5 separate regions of the Homo sapiens genome follow, and regions 1, 3, 4 and 5 are each linked to region 2. Evidence: promoter capture Hi-C in 16 types of primary human blood cells and fetal thymus (Javierre and others, 2016). All regions are on one chromosome and are shown on one strand. Each heading gives the region's core, a stretch centred on a gene start or on the middle of the fragment in contact. The rest is flanking DNA. Distances are from core to core; before and after follow the strand shown. Region 1 has its middle 68 kb from the start of EDEM3. Region 2 holds the start of C1orf21 (chromosome 1 open reading frame 21). Region 3 has its middle 97 kb from the start of EDEM3. Region 4 overlaps TSEN15 (tRNA splicing endonuclease subunit 15). Region 5 overlaps COLGALT2 (collagen beta(1-O)galactosyltransferase 2).

Region 1 (3,480 bases), core at 874-3,373, 300 kb after region 2:
TTGCATGTGGCACTTTATACAATAGCCGATGGTAGCAATTGTGCTGCATTCTCACAGTGAGTTTGGCGGTGAGCCACCTGCTTTGAATACAGCCATCCTTTGAAACAGGTTCTATTTTTATCCCCGCTTCACAGATGAGGAAACTGAGAGACCAATTTCAAGGTCATACAGAGTAAGGGCTGGAACTGGGATTTTAAGCTCAGCAGTCTGGCGCCAGGGTCTGTCCTCTTTTTCTTGTGTTGATACACGATATTTTCATACTTATAGGATACATGTGACTTCTGTTATGCATAATAAAGGTTGAGAAAATGTCAACTGCCCTCCCCCAGATCCTTGGTACCACCACTAGAACCCTCCAGGAGCCTTCTCTTTTTCCTGCATTTACCCTCACACACTTGCCTGTTTAATTTAGCCAATGTATTTCTTTGATTTCAGTTAAAACTCCATTGCTAAGCCTGTTTTCTTATCAATAAAATGGGAATAACGAAGGTATCTGTCTCACACAGGTCTTACAAAACTATAAGTTCTAAGTACCTGATAAATGTAAACAGCCAATAAATGAGCATTATTATTACAAAGATAGTAGAGAGTTTCGCAGAGGATTGATTTTGTTTTTGTCCCCCCCACAACCCCTGTCGCCTAGGCTGGAGTGCAGTGGTGCCATCTCGGCTCACTGCAACCTCTGCCTCCTGGGTTCAAGCAATTCTCCTGCCTCAGCCTCCTGAGTAGCTGGGAATTACAGGTGCCCACCACCATGCCCGGTTAATTTTTGTATTTTTATAGAGACGGGGTTTCACCACGTTGGCCAAGCTGGTCTTGAACTCCTGGCCTCAGGTGATCCACCCGCCTTGGCCTCCCAAAGTGCTGGGATTGCAGGTGTGAGCCACCATGCTCAGACTCACAGAGGTTTAGAAAGTACTGGCTTAAAATGAGACGCCTCTCACTTGGTTAGCCTAGAATTTTCCATTATTGCCTTACCAATACGAGATAAACAGGTTACCATTCTTTCCTGTAGCTCTTACTCAGAATTTCAAATTTAGAATGTCACATTCAGTGATTTTGGTCTAAAGAGGACCATTTTTGCCATCACCACAAAGCTTGGGAACCCTTGGCTTTGAGACCCACAAGAGGGCCCACCCGGCAAAGGATCTGTATCTTGGTCTCAGCATTTTGAGCTCTGCCCACACTTGTGTTAATTCAGATGAACACACAAAAGAAAGTACAGTATGTATTCTTTCATTAATGAGTTTACTCATCAGGAAAGGAAGAGAATAAATGGTGCTAATCAGAATAGCCAGTTTTCAGGGAATTAAAAGACATTTTTGCTTGAATGTGCTAAAAGTTTAAATGAGGAACAATACATTATCTAAGTCAGTAGTTTTTACACTGTATTCAGTGGAGCCCTGGAGTTTTGCCAAGGCATGTCAAGGGCAGCTCTGAAGTTCTGAAGTTAGTAATTATCCCTCTGGCTGAATGTTAACTTGAACAGAGTGGAGGAACTCAGGCTGTAAGGCCTGAGGACGACTGTGAAACAGCTGTGCCAGAACCTTCACGCTGCCTAAGAGCACATTCAGTTCTGGAGATGTGTGACCTTGGTCAAGTCACTTCCCACCTCTGGCATCTGTCGTCTTCTCTGTCCAATGAGGAGAATCAATGGCGTGACAATTTAAAAAATCTTTTGGCTCTAAAATTCTGAGACCCTCACATGAATTGCGGTCTCTTCAATGTTTACTTCCAATAAAAAAAGATTTTTAGGGCTACCTTCATACAACTGTCTTCAAAATTGGCACATCGTTTCTTTGACATTTCTCAGTGATTGCAAATCCTAGCCCTTTCAGGATAAATGTGATTTGGGGAAGTGACAGAAAACATCCACTCATTCCAAACCAGGTGTTTCATTCAACTCACCCCACAAGAGCTTAGTGAGTGCCTTTCAAGAGCTAGACACTGGCAGAGGTGAGACAATAGTGATGAGGCCAAACTTTTCCTTTTTCTCAAGCGGCTCCCAGGCCAGTGATAAGCTGGTAAAACACATACATGGGTTTCTGGCGTGGTTTTTAGATGTTTCCTAGGTGGGGCCATTGTGACAGGAGATGATGAAATGTTGGAGCCAAGGATCAGAGAAATTGGTAGTTGCCTTGGAAACAAGAAGACTTGTCTCTTGTATCTACCATTTTGAAGTCTGATAAGTATCCTCTGACTCAAGAGACCATAAGGCCTGAAGCTGTAAGCAGTCCTTTCTCCTATTCTCACCCCTTTGGGGAGTCACTCTCTAGCCCCTCACCATAATTTTTTCTTCATAAACTCATTGTCCTTTTCATTTACTTTATTTTCTATCTTCTTTACTACATTTTGTCCATTTGTCCACTACAACCACTGCAGGTCCTTTAAGTACCTTCAACTCCCAGATCCCTTTGGTAGCTGGCTGGTTGGCAGGTGAATGTTGTTTGCAAGGGTATCTGAGTCAGCCTTCATAGCAGCCATATAACACCCACTTGGTTCAAATAGATAATTGTGCATAGTTAGGAGAGTCAGTCTGTATCGCAGAAATCAGGCTAATCTAGGTTCAAATCCCAGGCCCATCTAACTTGCTCTGTGGCTTTGGGCAAGCCACTTAAATGAAATTATAGATATTTTGCAAGGTTGCCATATGGATAAGGAATCACATATATAGAGCACTCAGTATATGTTAATGCCTAGTGAGGGTTCAAAAAGTGGTGGTTCTGACTAGGTGCGATAGCTCACACCTGTAATCCCAGCACTTTGGGAGGCTGAGGCGGTCGGATCACTTGAGGTCAGGAGTTCGAGACCAGCCTGGTCAACATAGTGAAATCCTATCTCTATTAAAAATACAAAAATTAGCAGGGTATGGTGGCGCACGCCTATAATCCCAACTACTAGGATGGCTGAGGCAGGAGAACTGCTTGAACCCAGGAGACAAAAGTTGCAGTGTCCCAAGACTGCACCACTGCACTCCAGCCTGGATGACACAGTAAAACTCTGTCTCGAAAAAGAAAAAGTGTTGGTTCTTTTTATTATTAGGACTGCAAGGATGATACCAGTGTTCATATAGCTTATTAGAGAGCTGGCCTGGACCAGTCCTCTTTGAGGTGTTGCTGGAACTTGAAGGAACCACTGTTGAGCTGAGCAGAAGCTTACAGATACACCCTAGGGGAGTATGTGGCTTGGATGGGGCTCCTGGAGACAGCGAGCCACCAGGAACCACAGAAGGAAGGTGGGGTGAAGTTGAGTCAGCAGTCTGGCCAGACCAGTTGATGGAAGAAAGACCTGAACTGGATTCAAGAGACAAACTTTCATTGCCTCAGGTTAAAGATGGTCTCAAAGGTTGACATTAGAAAATGTAAAAAGGTGAAGCCAGGCATGGTGGCAGGTGCCTGTAATCCCAGTTACTTGGGAGGCTGATGTGGAAGGACTGCTTAAGGCCAGGAGTTCAATGCTGCAGTGCACTATGTTCTCACC
Region 2 (3,350 bases), core at 383-2,882:
AATGAAACAAGTCACCAGTGGTGAAAGGGATGGGGCTGGCTGCCCCTGATTGAAATCTCAATTTATCTACCCTCCCTTCTTAACCGCTCCTTTCCAAGAGGCTAGACTACAAAAAATTTGGGCTCCAAGAAGTATGAACCAGAATATGGATATTTTGTAAAAATGGAATGTAAGTTGAGGTTCCTGAACAATGTGATGTTAGGCAGGGTGCGGTGGAATTGGCCTGTAGTCCCAGCTACTTGGGAGGCTGAGATGGGGAAGATCCCTTGAGGAGGATCTCTTGGGTTCAGGAGTTCGAATCCAGCCTTGGCAGCAGACCCCATCCCTGAAAACAATAAAAATTAAAACAACAACAGTGGGATACTAGTCTTTTAATTTGAAAAAAAAAGGGGTGGAGAAAGGGAAAACCAGTTTTCAAAAAAGGCCAATTTCCTAGACATTAGTGGTTGATTACTAACTCATTTCATTAAACTAAATTATGAATTGGCTTTTCTCGTCAGTGTCACCACTCTGATGGCGTTCTTTTCCATTTTCCATCTTCACCCTGGCCGAATGTGGGAAATGATCTGGTTTGTGCATAATCCGCGAGGCCCAGGGAGGATCTTTTGCCCCTATTGTTTTCTTGGGTGTTCTCACTCTGGGGGCCTGACATTCCTCGCGTGTCTAAGGCAATGAGGGAGCAGTGAAGCGCGGGGAAGCCGCACAAAAGACATCCAAAGGCTATCAATGGAAAAAGATCAATTAGGTGCACACAAGAAACACCCAATATGCCAGGGAAGAGAAAAATACCCTTTTCCAGAGGGTGGGAAATTGATTGAGCTTCTGTGAGGGTCCACAAAGAACTGGACGGATGCAGTGGTGGATGGCGATCTCTCTGGACCACTCCGGACGCGCCCAGCAGACGCAGCCTACGCCTTTAGGTCCTAGGAGGCTGAGAAGGGTGGGGAGAGGGGGGCAGCACGATCTTGTGTCTTTCCTCCCCGTGCCGCCTCTACCGAATCGCGGATGCTTCATTAATCTTGCAGGCGCCGCAGCTCGGGTCAGTATGGAGGCGGATCGGTGGCAGAGCCCGGGCCTCTGGGCTGCGCCCGCCCGTTCAGCCTGGCCCGGGAGGGGAGCGGCCGCGCGGTGGGCCAAAGACGCCCGGCCTTCCCTCCGTCTGCTTCCAGCAGGCACAGCCGGGAGGCTGGGCTCAGGGGCTGACCCGAATCTCCCCTAGAGCTGGGCCCACCCGGCTGCCCCCCGAGCAGCCTCGCCGCTCCCACGCCACCGCCCAAGTGACAGGCCCGGGAAGGCCGGACGGGACGCAGTCTTCCCGCCGGGGTCTTCCCTCCGGCTGGCCGGCCGCTGCAGGGCGCGCGCGCACACACGTACACACACACACACACCTGCCCACACACACACACACACACACACACACACACTGCCGCCTCCTTCCCGCCCCGCAGCCCTAGCAGCCCCCAACCCGCTCCCCAGCGCGCTGCGCCCCGGCGGCCTCCGCAGGCCCCGCCCCGGGGAGGAGAGCCAGGCGCGCGCGGGAGCTAGGCTCGGGGAGGGGCCGGCGGTGGGGGAGTGTCTGCTGCCCCCGCCCCTCGAGTGAGTGACTGAGCGAGGAGCTCCCCTCCCTCGCTCGCTCCTCGCAAGCTCCCGCTCGCTCCCTGCCCACTCCCGGGGGGACGTTCCGTGCCGCGGCCGCCGCGGCCGCTGCTTCTTTCACACTTTAGTTGGGAGCTGCGCGCCGCGCTCAGTTACTGGAGAGCTGGCCGCGCGCCGCCGCCTCCCGCACGCTTGCACGCGGGCCCGGCTTCGGGGTTTTGGGTTCTTACTCCAAGCGGCGGGGAGGAGGGGGAGCCCCGGACACACTGTGGGGAGGAGGAGGAAGAAGAGGAGGAGGGAGGAAGAAAAAAGACGAGGAGGACAGGGGCGGGGGGCGGGAGGCTTGCCACCTTCAGCCCCCCCGCGAACGCCCAAGGTAAGTGTGAGCCATTGCCTGCTCTGGGGCGGGGGGAGCTGGCGGTGCAGCCCGCCCCGGCTCGGCTACCCGGGCATCCCCGGGTGGGCAGGGAGGGAGGCCTGCGGGGTGTCTGCCGCACGGAAGGGATGGGAGCCGCGGTCGTGGCGCTGCCTGCGCGGGGCCCGGGCCGGGGCTGCTGCTGGTGCGGGGCTGGCGGGGTTGCTGCCAGGGACGGAAGCTGGGGTGGGGGAGCCGCGAGGGGCGTCTGCCGGCCTGGGCGGAGGGGCTGGGATGTGGTCGGGGCTGCTGACGACTTTCGTCACATCGAGGCCTGGGTGGCTGGTGTTAGACACCCCTCCCTTCCCACCCGCACCCTGCCGCCCTCAGCCTTCCTGCTCTCCTCTAGCTTTGCATGTAGCCACCGTACTTTGCAAGCCAGAGCTTGAAAGGAAAAACACAATTTAGGATCCTTTGCTAAGTATCCAAGTCCCTTCTCTCGCTCCGACTGATTGATGTGTTTGTGTGGGTGGTTTGACCCCCGGGATTTCTGAAGTTTTGACCTTTTTGGGGTGGCTCGTTTCGTTGCATCTGTTTGCCCACCTCGGTGTATTTATTATTCGTGCCCATGCGAGGCAGCCAGAGGGTGCTTGGTTATTGTACACGAAACAGATTTCACTCTCCTCTGCAGGCAGTTCGCGAAGTGCCGCCGCCGCGGCTGCCTTTGGTCTGCTGGTTAATGTCCTTTCCCTATCATCCACCCTGCTCCCTCCCTCTACGGAGGGTTAGTTTTTGTTTTTGTTTTTGTTTTTTCCTTTCCACTTACTGTTTGTGTGAGAGAAGTCCTGGGCTTAAGGGCTCTCAGCACTCGTTCATTTCTCTTCTAAAGCTCTGAATGGCTCAGGCATGTCGGTAAAATTTGGGGTGGTCCTCTTTGCTCCAAGAGTTGCATGGCCAAAGATAAAAATATGCACACATAAACACGCATTAATTCTGAGAGACGGCAAGCAGTTTGAGAGAGAAATAATTTGTTTTCAATAGGAAGTCGGTGACCTATGGGATCTCTTCCATTGCCGGTGGGTTAGGAAAATTGTTTTAAAATAGATAGTGCTTGTGTTGTCCGTGGCTGGAAGACAGCCATAGTTCAGTTACTGAAGCAATTCTGAAAGTGATACACCCTGGGCACCCAGAACCTCAGTAAAGACACACGTAGTCTGACTCAGATGTTAGGAAGGGGACTGACACACCATAGATTCCATGGAGTATTTTTTTCTTTCTTTTCTTTTTTTTTTTTGTAGGAGACTGTCCAGACCGTTTGGGGAAATGACAAGTTCATTACACAGACAGATGTAATGAACACCTCCCTATTCAAGGGGATGGGTTCAGCTTCTGCCTAATA
Region 3 (3,735 bases), core at 1,164-3,663, 270 kb after region 2:
AAATCCCATACAGACAGTCCTAAGACACAACTCTTTAGGGACTAGAAAACATACCAATCCCTCCAGAACAGCTCTCTTTCTGGATAGAATGCTTCTTTTTTACTTCTGAGTCTGGTAGCTGGTGAGATAAAGTGATTCTGGCCCAGACAACACCTTCCTGTCTTCTGCGCATAATAAATAATATAAGTTTATGTCATGAGAAAAGATCACTCCCCAAATTCTTCCACCCCATTTGCTTATTTTCCTCTTTGGACTTTACCCAAGCCATGACTCTCCCACTCAGCCAGTTCAAAGAAACCTTTCATTTGAAAGGTTTCTAATTTGAAAGATTTCTAATTTTGAAAGAATTAGTGTTTCTAATTTTGAAAGAATCGTATCTTTCATGATACAGTGAAGCTAAAGGTCCAATATGGAGTCTGCATGATGAAACTTTTTTTTTTTTTTTTTTTTTTTGAGACAGTCTCGCTCTGTCGCCCAGGCTGGAGTGCAGTGGCACCATCTCGGCTCACTGCAACCTCCGCCTCCCAGGTTCAAGCAATTCTCGTGTCTCAGCCTCCCAAGTAGCTGGGATTACAGGCCTGCACCACCAGGCCTGGCTAAATTTTGTACTTTTAATAGAGACAGGGTTTCACTATGTTGGCCAGGCTGGTCTCAAACTCTTGACCTCAGGTGATCCACCCGCCTTGGCCTCCCAAAGTGCTGGGATTACAGGCGTGAGCCACCATGCCCGGCCTGAAACTTTCTAATGATTGTTTTACTCTGTAAGAATATTTCTGATTCTGGCTGGATCACTGACTTAACATTGAAGGAAGTTATTGGACTCATTCTCAGTAGTAACTGGGATTCCTCAGAAGAAGAGTTAGAATTGTTGAGAAATGAAATAGTTCTTCCCAGGGCAAGTTATAGCCCCAAAGATACAAAATGATGGTGCCATGAGTTGGAAACTATGGTTTCCTGCATTTTTATCTATGGTGTGCAATCAAAAGTCCAGGTTCTGCATTTCTAAAATGTCCTGGTTAATGACATTTCACTCACAACTTTTTTTTCCCTTTTGATTTATGGAAAATGTGAAGCATTCGCACAGGGAAGAAAATACAGCCTCTTTTCATTTTGCTTAAACCCAGGAAGGCTTTATTCAGTAGCACCTGTTTGGGTGGACTTCAACAAGCTTCTCCAAAATAGAAACGTTCCATTAGTAAACTGTTTAGGAAATAGACCGTGCTCAGAAATGAGCCTGCTGAAAGAGCTGCAAAGTTATTCTGCCGTTTCATCCTTGCTTATTTTCCCCCCATGGAGTTTCATGTCTTATTTTTAAACTATGTTTCACTTTAAGTGACAAAGCAGCCCTTTGGAAATTATATATAAAGTCTATTATTTTAATTTGTTTATTAAAAATTATTTTGTCTCTTAATTAGTGTTAGATCCAAAAGAGTGCTGCTATGTTTATTTACATATGTATAGACATATGTACATATATGTTATGTATATTTCTTGCTATGCATGTAATATATAAGCATTGTACATTATATATTATATAACTCAGATAATATATAATATTTATATATAAATGTTTATATGCTATGTATATTTACATATATACACACATGTATATATGTGGATATATAAATAAAGCACTAAGCATGGAACATATACATAAAGCACTAAGCATGATATATATATATGCTTATATATAATATATATAATATATGTATTATATTATATATAATTCCAGATATATAATGTATGCTTAATCCTTTATGTATATTTTCCAGTCAGTCCTTACAATTCTGTAATGCAATTGTTAGTTCTCCATTTTTCAAGCAAAGAGCCTCATTAGAGAATTTGCTTCTCTAGCCCAAGGATGTGCAGTCATAACAAACTTGGTATTTCACCTCAGTGCTGATTCTAGAGCCTGTGTTTTCCCTCCTGTCCATCATTCTGATTTTCTCACAGCTAACAATATAGGAGCATCAGATATTCCTGTATTGGATGGAACAGAAAGGAAGCTAAGAGCTCATCCACTTCACCTTCATTTTATGGGAGGAATGGGAGCCCAGAGAATTGAAATGACTTGCTCAAATGTACGTAATTAACTGACAAGAGCCGTCACTTCTCAGCATCTCCTTTTACTCCAGAATTCTACTCACATAGTAGAATCTCACTCAATGTGAGAGTTTATTGGAATTTACTCCCCCAAATGAAACTAGATTTATTTTATTTTCTTTATATGTAAAGGAATTCATGATTTAAAAAACAGCATTCACTCTGTCCACATAAAATCGTGAATATGCACAAAGGGATGTATGAAAGATGAACTCTAAAATACTCATGGTAGTTATCTCCAGGTAGTGGGATTTCAGATTATCTGTCTCTTTCTCTATACTTTTTTGTGTTTGAACGTATATATATATATATAATTAGAACATGCAATAAGGTCAGATGCTCAGTTAATAACCCCTTGTGTAGTTTTTCTAACATTCTCATGTTCATGTAACAATATAAAAACATGTATACATGTATTTAAGGGTTGTCAATATTTGTTTTACAAAAATGTTTTTTCCCTATACATTCTCTGAAGTTTGTTCTATCACTTAAAAACGTTTTGTGAAAATCTCTCCAAATCAATTGGTAAAGCTCTATTTAAATAGTGCCCAACATTACATGGTTAAGAATATGCCATGATTTTACCCATTCCCCTTTCAATGAATTCTCAGTTTGTTTCTTGATGTTTGCCACCACAAGCAATGCTGCAGTGAATATCCTTATACTGGTGGCTTTATTTCTATAGAACAGACTTCCAGTAGTTGAACTGGTAGTAAAGTCCTCCTTTGCTACTCTCTCCTCATTATTTTATGTGTATTCTTGGACATACATAGTCTTCCACATGAATCTTAAAAAATTCTGTATCTAATTAAATAAAAACCTTACTTAAATTCCACTTAAATTAAAATTCCATTAATTATACATGTTACTATTGAGGAAAATGACATTTTTATGGTGTGAAGTTTTCCTTTCCATACTATATATTTTGATTACTTTTCTGATCTTGCTTTAGATCATTTGATAAAATATTATAGCTAACTTCATATGGCTCCTGTGCCTTTCAGGTCTATATTTATATCCTGTAAAATTTTCATATTAATTCTAATATTATGATATTTCTTGAATTTTCTAGGTATAAAATTACATTACTAAAGTATGATCTTTCATCTCTTCTTTTTCCATATTTATGCAAAATATTTCAATTTTTGCCTTCTTGCATTTACTAGAATTAACTAATGTTGAATTTTGGGGATAATGAGCATGTCTTTTCTGTTCTTGATTTTAATGAAAATGGTATTCTCATTTCATTATTTATGATGATGTTTGCTATTGATATTTGTTCATCATTATCATATTTTCATACTTTTCTATTTATAACTTTACTTAGTTTTTTGACTAATAATGTGCTTTAATATACTGATATAATGAATTTCATTAATATATTTATTAATATTGAACCATTCTTATATTCTTGTATTTTTATAATAAGCCCTCCTTGGTCAAATATTATTACTATTATGATACATTGTTCTCTTTGCTCATTCTTTCTTAAACATTTTTGCAATAATATGTATTAGTATGCTTGCATGATAGTTTTCTTCTGTTTTAAACCTTTTAAAGCTTTCCCACTCAAGTTATTCTCAATTTATTCATAGGGAATTTTTTTCTTATTTTCACAGTTATGTGTATCTC
Region 4 (3,749 bases), core at 141-2,640, 330 kb before region 2:
TAAGATGTACCATGTAATACAAATTATACTTTATATAGCAGTTGGTGAAAAGCATGATTAACATGCAAGCTGAAATCAAATTTTCATGTAGCTTTTTTTAAAAGCTTTAAAAAAGAGACTTTTTTTAGGACCTTTTTTTAAAAAGCTTAGGTACACAGCATTGGATTAAACATGTCTTTGTTTCATGACATACTCTCATTATTAGTTCATGCTTGGTTTTTATTTATTTACTTAGTTATTTTTAATAATGTAATAAGTATCTCTGTACCCATCACCCAAAGCAAAACTAGATTCTTGATAATAACTAACATCTAATCTTATAAGTCCCTTCCTTAACGTGCTTTCACTGACCTGAGGTAACTCATTCTGAATTCCATGTACATTGGGAATTTTTAAATTTTAGATGTTTTTAACTTTAATTAAAAAATCTTATCTTTTAAGGCTGACCTTATACACTTAATATTATATTACTAAAATTCATCCATTCTTGTGCATTTTTTGAGCTGCCACATAACATTCCATTGTGTGATTATACCACCATTTTTACATCCACTCCCTCGATGATGGAGTGTTGCTAATGTTTAACTTTAGGAGATAATTTCAAACTATTTTCAAAGTGGTTGCCTCAATTTACTTTTCACCTGCAGTGTAAATAAGATCCTTTGGAGCTGTATTGTCTCTCACATTTAGTATTGTCAGACTTTTAAATTTTTGCCAATGGAATGGATTATTCTTATTTTGGTCTTAATTTACATTTCCCTTATTACTCATAATACTGAATATTTCTTTATATATGTATTATTTATAAGAAATATCTGTTCATATCTTTTGCCTGTTGGGTTGTTTTTAGTTTTCTCATTGACTTGTATGAATTCTTTATATATTCTTGACCTAATAGTTTTTTTATTGTGTTTTCCAGTTTTTAAGTCTGTCTTTCACTGTCTTAAGATGTCTTTCAATGAGTAACAGTTCTTAATTTGAATATAATCATATTTATCCATCTTTTATAATCAACGTCTTTGTGTCTAGTTTAAGAAATATTTTCTATCTAACGGTCTAAAAAATACTTATATTTTCACTAAGAGTTCTATTGTTCTTGTTTTTAATGGTGTGAGAGGCGGTTAGGGATACCATTGTCATGTGGATAACCACTTTTTCTACCTCCATTTACTGAATAGTCCCTCCTTTCCTCACTATCTGACATATCACTTCTGCTACTTTCCAAAGTTCCAAACATGCATTAATTTGTTTCTGGGTTCTCTATTATATTCCATTAGCCAGTTTATCTGTCCTTTTGCCAATACCATATCTCTTAATCGCTTGCTTGGTAAGAAGTCTTGGTATCTGGTTAGCAAGCCTCCCTTATGCATTTCTTCTTTAGAAGCTGTAGCAGGCAGCTTCTAAGATGGCTTCTCCTAATTCTGGTATTCACTCCCTTATGTAACTCTCTTCCCTTGAGTGTGACCTGGACTCAGTGACTTCTTTCTAATGAATAAAATTTGGCAAAAATGATAGGAATGTAACTTCTAAGATTAGGTTACAAAAGACTGTGGCTTCTATCTTGGGCACTCTCTCTTGCTTACTATAAAGGAAGCCAGCTGCCACGTGAGCTGTCCTACAGAAAGTCTGAAAATAGAAAAGAGATGACAATTATTGATGGAGCAAGATTCTTGAGAGATGAGGAAGGATGGATTCAAGAGGATAGTGGAGGAGAGTAATATTGAGCATGTAAAGGGGTGCTGTAAACCTCTGAGAGTGGGGTATGGGAAGAATGAACAAATGAAAACACAGCTCTATTTGGGTGGCATATAAGTAGGGAAAAGAGCAGAGCCTCTTAAATTCCAGCATGAATACCGTTGATGAATACTTAACATTTTTTCTAGCTGACTATGACTGAATACATAGCAGTCTAGTAGAAAGAGCCCCAGACTATAAAGTCTTAAGACCTGGGTTCTAGTCTTGGGACTGACACTTAACATTTTGTTTGATGTTTAGCAACACACCTAATTTCTCTGGGTTTCAGTTTCCTCGTCTTATTTTGTTGTTGAGGGATTTAGATTACCAGTACATGCAAGATCCCTTCTAAATTAAAGCTGCTGTAACTGGTTATTTTCATTGTGCATATTTCATAAAGCCATATTAAACTAAATTTGCAGATTTCTATGAAGTATTTTTTGTATTTATTATTCATAATGAGAATTGTTTTTTAATATGTCAGTCTATTCATATGCTTCTTTGAGAAGCTCCTTACTGTTTTCTCTGTGTTTGAGAATTACAAATAGTTGTTAGCATTGACATCAGATTTAATCGCTAGTACTTTCCGGTTTTTACTAGCATGATTTCCAAGCCATCCTATATCCAAGAGTCTTAATTCATTCCTCAGAACTCATTACTTCTGTCTTTTAATTACTGTAACAAATATTGTCCTAGCTAGTATTAATGTTATATTATTTGTTTGGACAAGGAGCTACTATTTGAAATTAACCTGCATTTATTCCTAAAAAATAAAATTAATGAAAGCAATAGCCTATTTTAATCAAAATCATTTCATAAGTCTAGAAGTACAAATTTGTTTCCATTGTTAATTTCTAGTATTTTCCAGGTGGTAATTAATGCTTTTCTAGCTTGAATGGCTAAAGCTTGTTTTCTTCTTCAAGTAGAATTAGTTGGAATGATAACTTGGTAAGCCATTTTGATGCTGTTGCATTTAATAACTGAGAGAGCTTAAATCTTTATGTCTTGTTTTTATATAAATATTCTTAACTATATTATACAGTAGAATACTAATATAGAATGTAGCACAAATGAGGCCTGATACATACTAGATTTATATGCCTTTTAGTGCATAACATTTTCTCAACTCAAACTATGCAAATAACTTTTTAACAAATGGAAATGTGTGGGTGTATATGTGTGTATGTGTGATTTCATTATTCAGTCTTTAACAGGGCAGTCTTTTAGGTAGTAGGCATACTTTTATCTATTTTTACTTTTAGTGTATTTTATAATATAAAATGTTATATATCTAACAGTAATGCTGCAATTCCAGCCTTTCATAGTTAATGTGGGAATTTTTCTGTGTTAGTAACACAGAGAAGAAAATGATTGATGTTGAGTCTCTGATAACCTTGTATAGCAAAGAAATTCATTGGGACATGTCCTAAAAGTATTTGGTGGGAAGATGTGAGGGCAACTCACCATGAAAGAAAAAATACTTTTTATTTAAGAGGGAAAACAGCTTTTACTTATTCAGTGATAAAACATCTACATAAATTAACGATTCTGTTTTCACTTTTAAATATTATTATTTGTCAGATAATATTGCTTGGGCTTTTTGGTCTTAACAATTATTTATTGAGTGACTCTTATGTGTCAGGCAATGATCTAGGTGCTGGGGATACCATGATAACAAATACTTTCATGACATCCTCATGAAAGTAGTATTCTAGCACTGAATATTCGCTTAGAAAATACTTTTTTTTTTTTTTTTGGTAATTGTTGGATGGAATTTTAAAAAACAGAATTGCCCTTTGTTCAGATATTTAATTGAATGTGTGATTTGGGACTGCCTTCACTTATTTTGTAGCTAGATAATTGAATAACAAGTATTATGGAGTACTGATAAGTAGTTTAACAGGGATATGTACAAAATTATGTCAAAACCCAGAGGAAGGACAGGAAAAGTCTCTTTAGCCAGTAAGAGACCATGGTTTAGTAGGGTAACTGCAAGTAATTAAGCATGATTGCCT
Region 5 (3,323 bases), core at 748-3,247, 430 kb before region 2:
GCTCCTTCTGAATACTGTTCAGCAGCTACAGGGGACACCCATGAGAGAGTCAGTGATGTGGAGTCACAATCCCTGCCAAGTATCTGTTACGCATATTACCAGGAGGGGAACCTCTTAATATTTCTGCTTCATTCTTTATACAACTAAAACTTAATAATAAATACTACCCTTAGAATATTATTAGGAAGTTCTTGCCTGCTGAAAGGCAGAATTTTAGAACAAATATGTTTTTTTTTCTTTCTTTGTCCTCTCAACCCTGCTCTCTAACCTTTTTCCATGGAAGAATAGTAGAAATAAAAGAAAGCACAGAAAGTTCCAGAATAGTTTCCACTTGCTCAGATGTGGCAGAATAAAATTAAAGTCCTCCATATCTAAAACATGTATCCTCTGTATCTTACTCTTGAATTTTGATAAAAAGGTTGATTAAAAATATCACAATATCTGCTCCTAGAAAATATCAAATTCACTTTCATTACTAAATGGTAATTTCTTTCTAAGTAAATGATTAACTACATTTATCATGATACTCCTTTTTTTAAGATAAGGAAACTGAGAACAACAAAAACCAAGTAGTTTTCCCAAGACCTCAGAGCCATTTCAGCAGCCAAGCCAGTCTTGCTGGCTCTCAGATGCAAGCTCAGGCTTGTGTTCCAAAATGAACACACAAGCCTGCACACGCGTGCATGTGCACACACATATAGACACCTTTCCTACCTCATCAAATCCCATCTTGTCTGGATATTTAGGGACAACTGAGACATACTGGGAGGGTTCCATTGGAGGACGGTCAACTGGAAGACACAAGAAACATGCAGAGTGCTTTGTTAATGAAAGGGTCAGAAATCAGAATTCCATCCGCATGCCTGATCTCTAGGGTTGGAATATAACTTGGAAATACAGGGCAGGGGACAATGGCAGCAGTTCTCCAGGATTGAGTAGCCACACAGGAACCCTGCTGGTCAGGGCACTGGTTTCAGGAGCATTTGATTATATGGAGATTGCAACATTTGCTCCACTTCCCTTAAGACTTATTTCAAGAATATTTGGGAGGCAGTTTAGGATAATGGTTAAGAGGAAGGGCTCCAGAGTCGGATGATCTGGGTCCAAACCTTGGTTTGCGAAGGAGTAGGAGAGTTAGGGGACCTCTTTAAGCTCATTTCTTTGGTGTAAAATTGGGATAATAGAAGTGTATCTGTGTTATAAAATTTAAATGAGACCTGCGTGCAAAGCACTCACCACTTTAACACAGTAAATGCTCAACAACTCTTAGCTATTACTTACTATGGCCCATGATGAAAGAGCTCAGAAATAGGCTAGAATTTTTACTGAAAAACACTTTTTTCTCTGCATTTAAAATTGTCAAAGTGGGGGACTATTTTTATCCCACCTGGGCAGGTTTAGGTGTGGGTGCGCAAAAGGTCCATTGCTTTAACAGGATCTAACCACAGAGAGCTGGCCCATGTCTAATGGGAAGATTCCAGCTGGGAGTGACACTACTTCTTCAATAATGAAAGTTTTATTTATTTGATACTCTAAAAAAGCTTCCTTTGCAAACTATGTATTTTAAAGTTTGGAAGTAATATTGGTTAAGAAACCTGAAAAGGCCTTGAAGAATGTTTAGTATTATAAAAATTCAAAGTCCTCGAAGAATGTTTAGTATTATACAAATTCAAAGTCCTCATTTGATTTTCCTTAAAGGGATAATACAAAGAAAATTTAAAATGATAGCTGGTAACTGGGTTGTTGAAAGAACTATGGGTAATGGCCATGACTACTGTAACGTATCTGTTCACCTCTATTCCAGGCACAGGAGAGGAATACACTCTCTTGCCCTTGAAGTTACTCAGGGCTATATGACTTTCTGGGGAAAGTTTATAGTGTGGTGCTGCTGCTCCACTCTCCAAGGGCTCCCCCGACACTGCCCTTGGTCCCACCACTGTGCTCATAGCGGCATGTGTGGATATGGATAGCAGATGTGAATTGGAAGCAGCCTGGAACATTGCATCAACACATGAAGGGCAGCTCCCAGGAAAGACACCTGCTCTGCAGACTTGGATAGCAAGAAATAAGCCATTGTTGTATGAAGCCAATCAGATTTTTATATTCCAGCATAACTTTGCCCATCCTGAGATACTGTCCAAAGGGTATGATCTGTTTAACTTCACTGAAATATTATAGAGAAATCCTGACATCCAATTTTACTTATTGGCGAATGATGTGAAATTCTAGAACGTAGTGAGACAGAGTTCTTAGGCCAAACACAAGAGCTGGTCTCATTACTTCAAACTTGACACTTACAGTCATATTTCTGTGCATATGCAGTGCATGTCTTTGTCTTCCCAATAGCAGCCGAGAATATTCTGGTCCTTTCTGCTCCACTCCACTCCTTATTAGTTTCTTTTAAAATCAATAGGGAGGGTCCACCAGGTACACGGTTAGGTTTTTAAGAGAAAGAAGCTTAATGTACCAGCTTCCTCCTGTTCATGATATTGTCTGAGGAGCTGTCTCACTCTCCCTCCTGGGGCCTGAGACTTGGGAAGATGTTATATTTTGAGTTACCCATTCTAGGCTGCTGGTCTCCTTTGGACTCACATGGCCTGTGTGGCTTTAACATTTCAGCCAAAGAGACTGCTTTTAGCCACTTTGTTTCCATCAAACATAGGCAGTCATTGCATTCACAGGACAAGTGTTGCAAAAAAAAAGCCACAAGTGGTTGGCTCCCGAAAGTCATCACTGAGCAAAAATATCAGAGAAGTGTGCTTGGGTTTTGCCACTGAAGGCAGCAGTAAGCCACAGAGGAAAACAGGAAGTGATACAGTGAGTCAGACCTAAGAAACTTAGTCTGTGGGGAGAAGGATGTATCTTTGCTGACAACAGACTTGAAGGTTAGGTATATCCTGGCTTCTGTTTGTAGTCATTTCTGACTCCATCTTTCATAATTGATCTGGTCTCTCATTAAATCCCTTCCTGGAAATAATCCTTCCCTGTACTGCCACTTGGGACAATGGGCTTCATTGCTTTCGGGATAGTTTCAAGATCTAATGTGAATAATTACAGCCATTGTTACAGAGGTCTTATCACTCACAGAACCCAGAGTTCTGTGAGTGATATATATATATGTCACATATATACTTGACATATATAATCACATATATTTAATGTTCACATGTACCATGGGATATGTATGAGTGTCTCTATTTTTATAGACAAGGAAACAAACATTAAATAACTTGCCCAAGATCACAGAGCTGATAGAGCTGGTATTTGAACCTAGGTCCTACTCCTTTACCGGAGCTCTTAATTCCCATTCCACATCATCCCCA

The links. The method cuts DNA at HindIII sites, captures the fragments that hold promoters and counts their contacts. A CHiCAGO score of 5 or more calls a contact.
Region 1: a fragment that was not itself captured here is called in contact with the fragment with the promoter of C1orf21 in region 2 in 1 of 17 cell types (M1 macrophages); the score reaches 6.0 in M1 macrophages.
Region 3: a contact is called between a fragment that was not itself captured here and the fragment with the promoter of C1orf21 in region 2, in 5 of 17 cell types (megakaryocytes, M1 macrophages, M2 macrophages and 2 more). The highest score is 7.3, in megakaryocytes.
Region 4: a contact is called between a fragment that was not itself captured here and the fragment with the promoter of C1orf21 in region 2, in 1 of 17 cell types (M1 macrophages). The highest score is 5.2, in M1 macrophages.
Region 5: a fragment that was not itself captured here is called in contact with the fragment with the promoter of C1orf21 in region 2 in 1 of 17 cell types (M1 macrophages); the score reaches 6.5 in M1 macrophages.

Annotation. Positions count from the first base shown.
Region 1 is chr1:184,685,290-184,688,769 of GRCh38, forward strand. No RefSeq gene overlaps it. Among named protein-coding and RNA genes, the nearest start is that of EDEM3, 68 kb to the right of the region's middle. The HindIII fragment of the contact is 2,057 bases long and covers 1,096-3,152 here.
Region 2 is chr1:184,385,397-184,388,746 of GRCh38, forward strand. C1orf21 (chromosome 1 open reading frame 21) reads left to right here and starts at 1,633. Exons shown (of 6, transcript NM_030806.4): 1 at 1,633-1,972. It overlaps C1orf21-DT (C1orf21 divergent transcript), which reads right to left and starts at 1,308. Exons shown (of 1, transcript NR_172919.1): 1 at 357-1,308. RefSeq lists silencers at 1,119-1,178, 1,269-1,378, 1,409-1,668. The HindIII fragment of the contact is 4,352 bases long and covers 1-3,350 here.
Region 3 is chr1:184,656,269-184,660,003 of GRCh38, forward strand. No RefSeq gene overlaps it. Among named protein-coding and RNA genes, the nearest start is that of EDEM3, 97 kb to the right of the region's middle. The HindIII fragment of the contact is 2,495 bases long and covers 1,167-3,661 here.
Region 4 is chr1:184,055,559-184,059,307 of GRCh38, forward strand. The region is part of intron 3 of TSEN15 (tRNA splicing endonuclease subunit 15); the gene reads left to right. Among named protein-coding and RNA genes, the nearest start is that of TSEN15, 5.7 kb to the left of the region's middle. The HindIII fragment of the contact is 2,494 bases long and covers 144-2,637 here.
Region 5 is chr1:183,954,048-183,957,370 of GRCh38, forward strand. COLGALT2 (collagen beta(1-O)galactosyltransferase 2) reads right to left here. Exons shown (of 12, transcript NM_015101.4): 7 at 715-791. Among named protein-coding and RNA genes, the nearest start is that of COLGALT2, 82 kb to the right of the region's middle. RefSeq lists a silencer at 1,785-1,949. The HindIII fragment of the contact is 916 bases long and covers 1,540-2,455 here.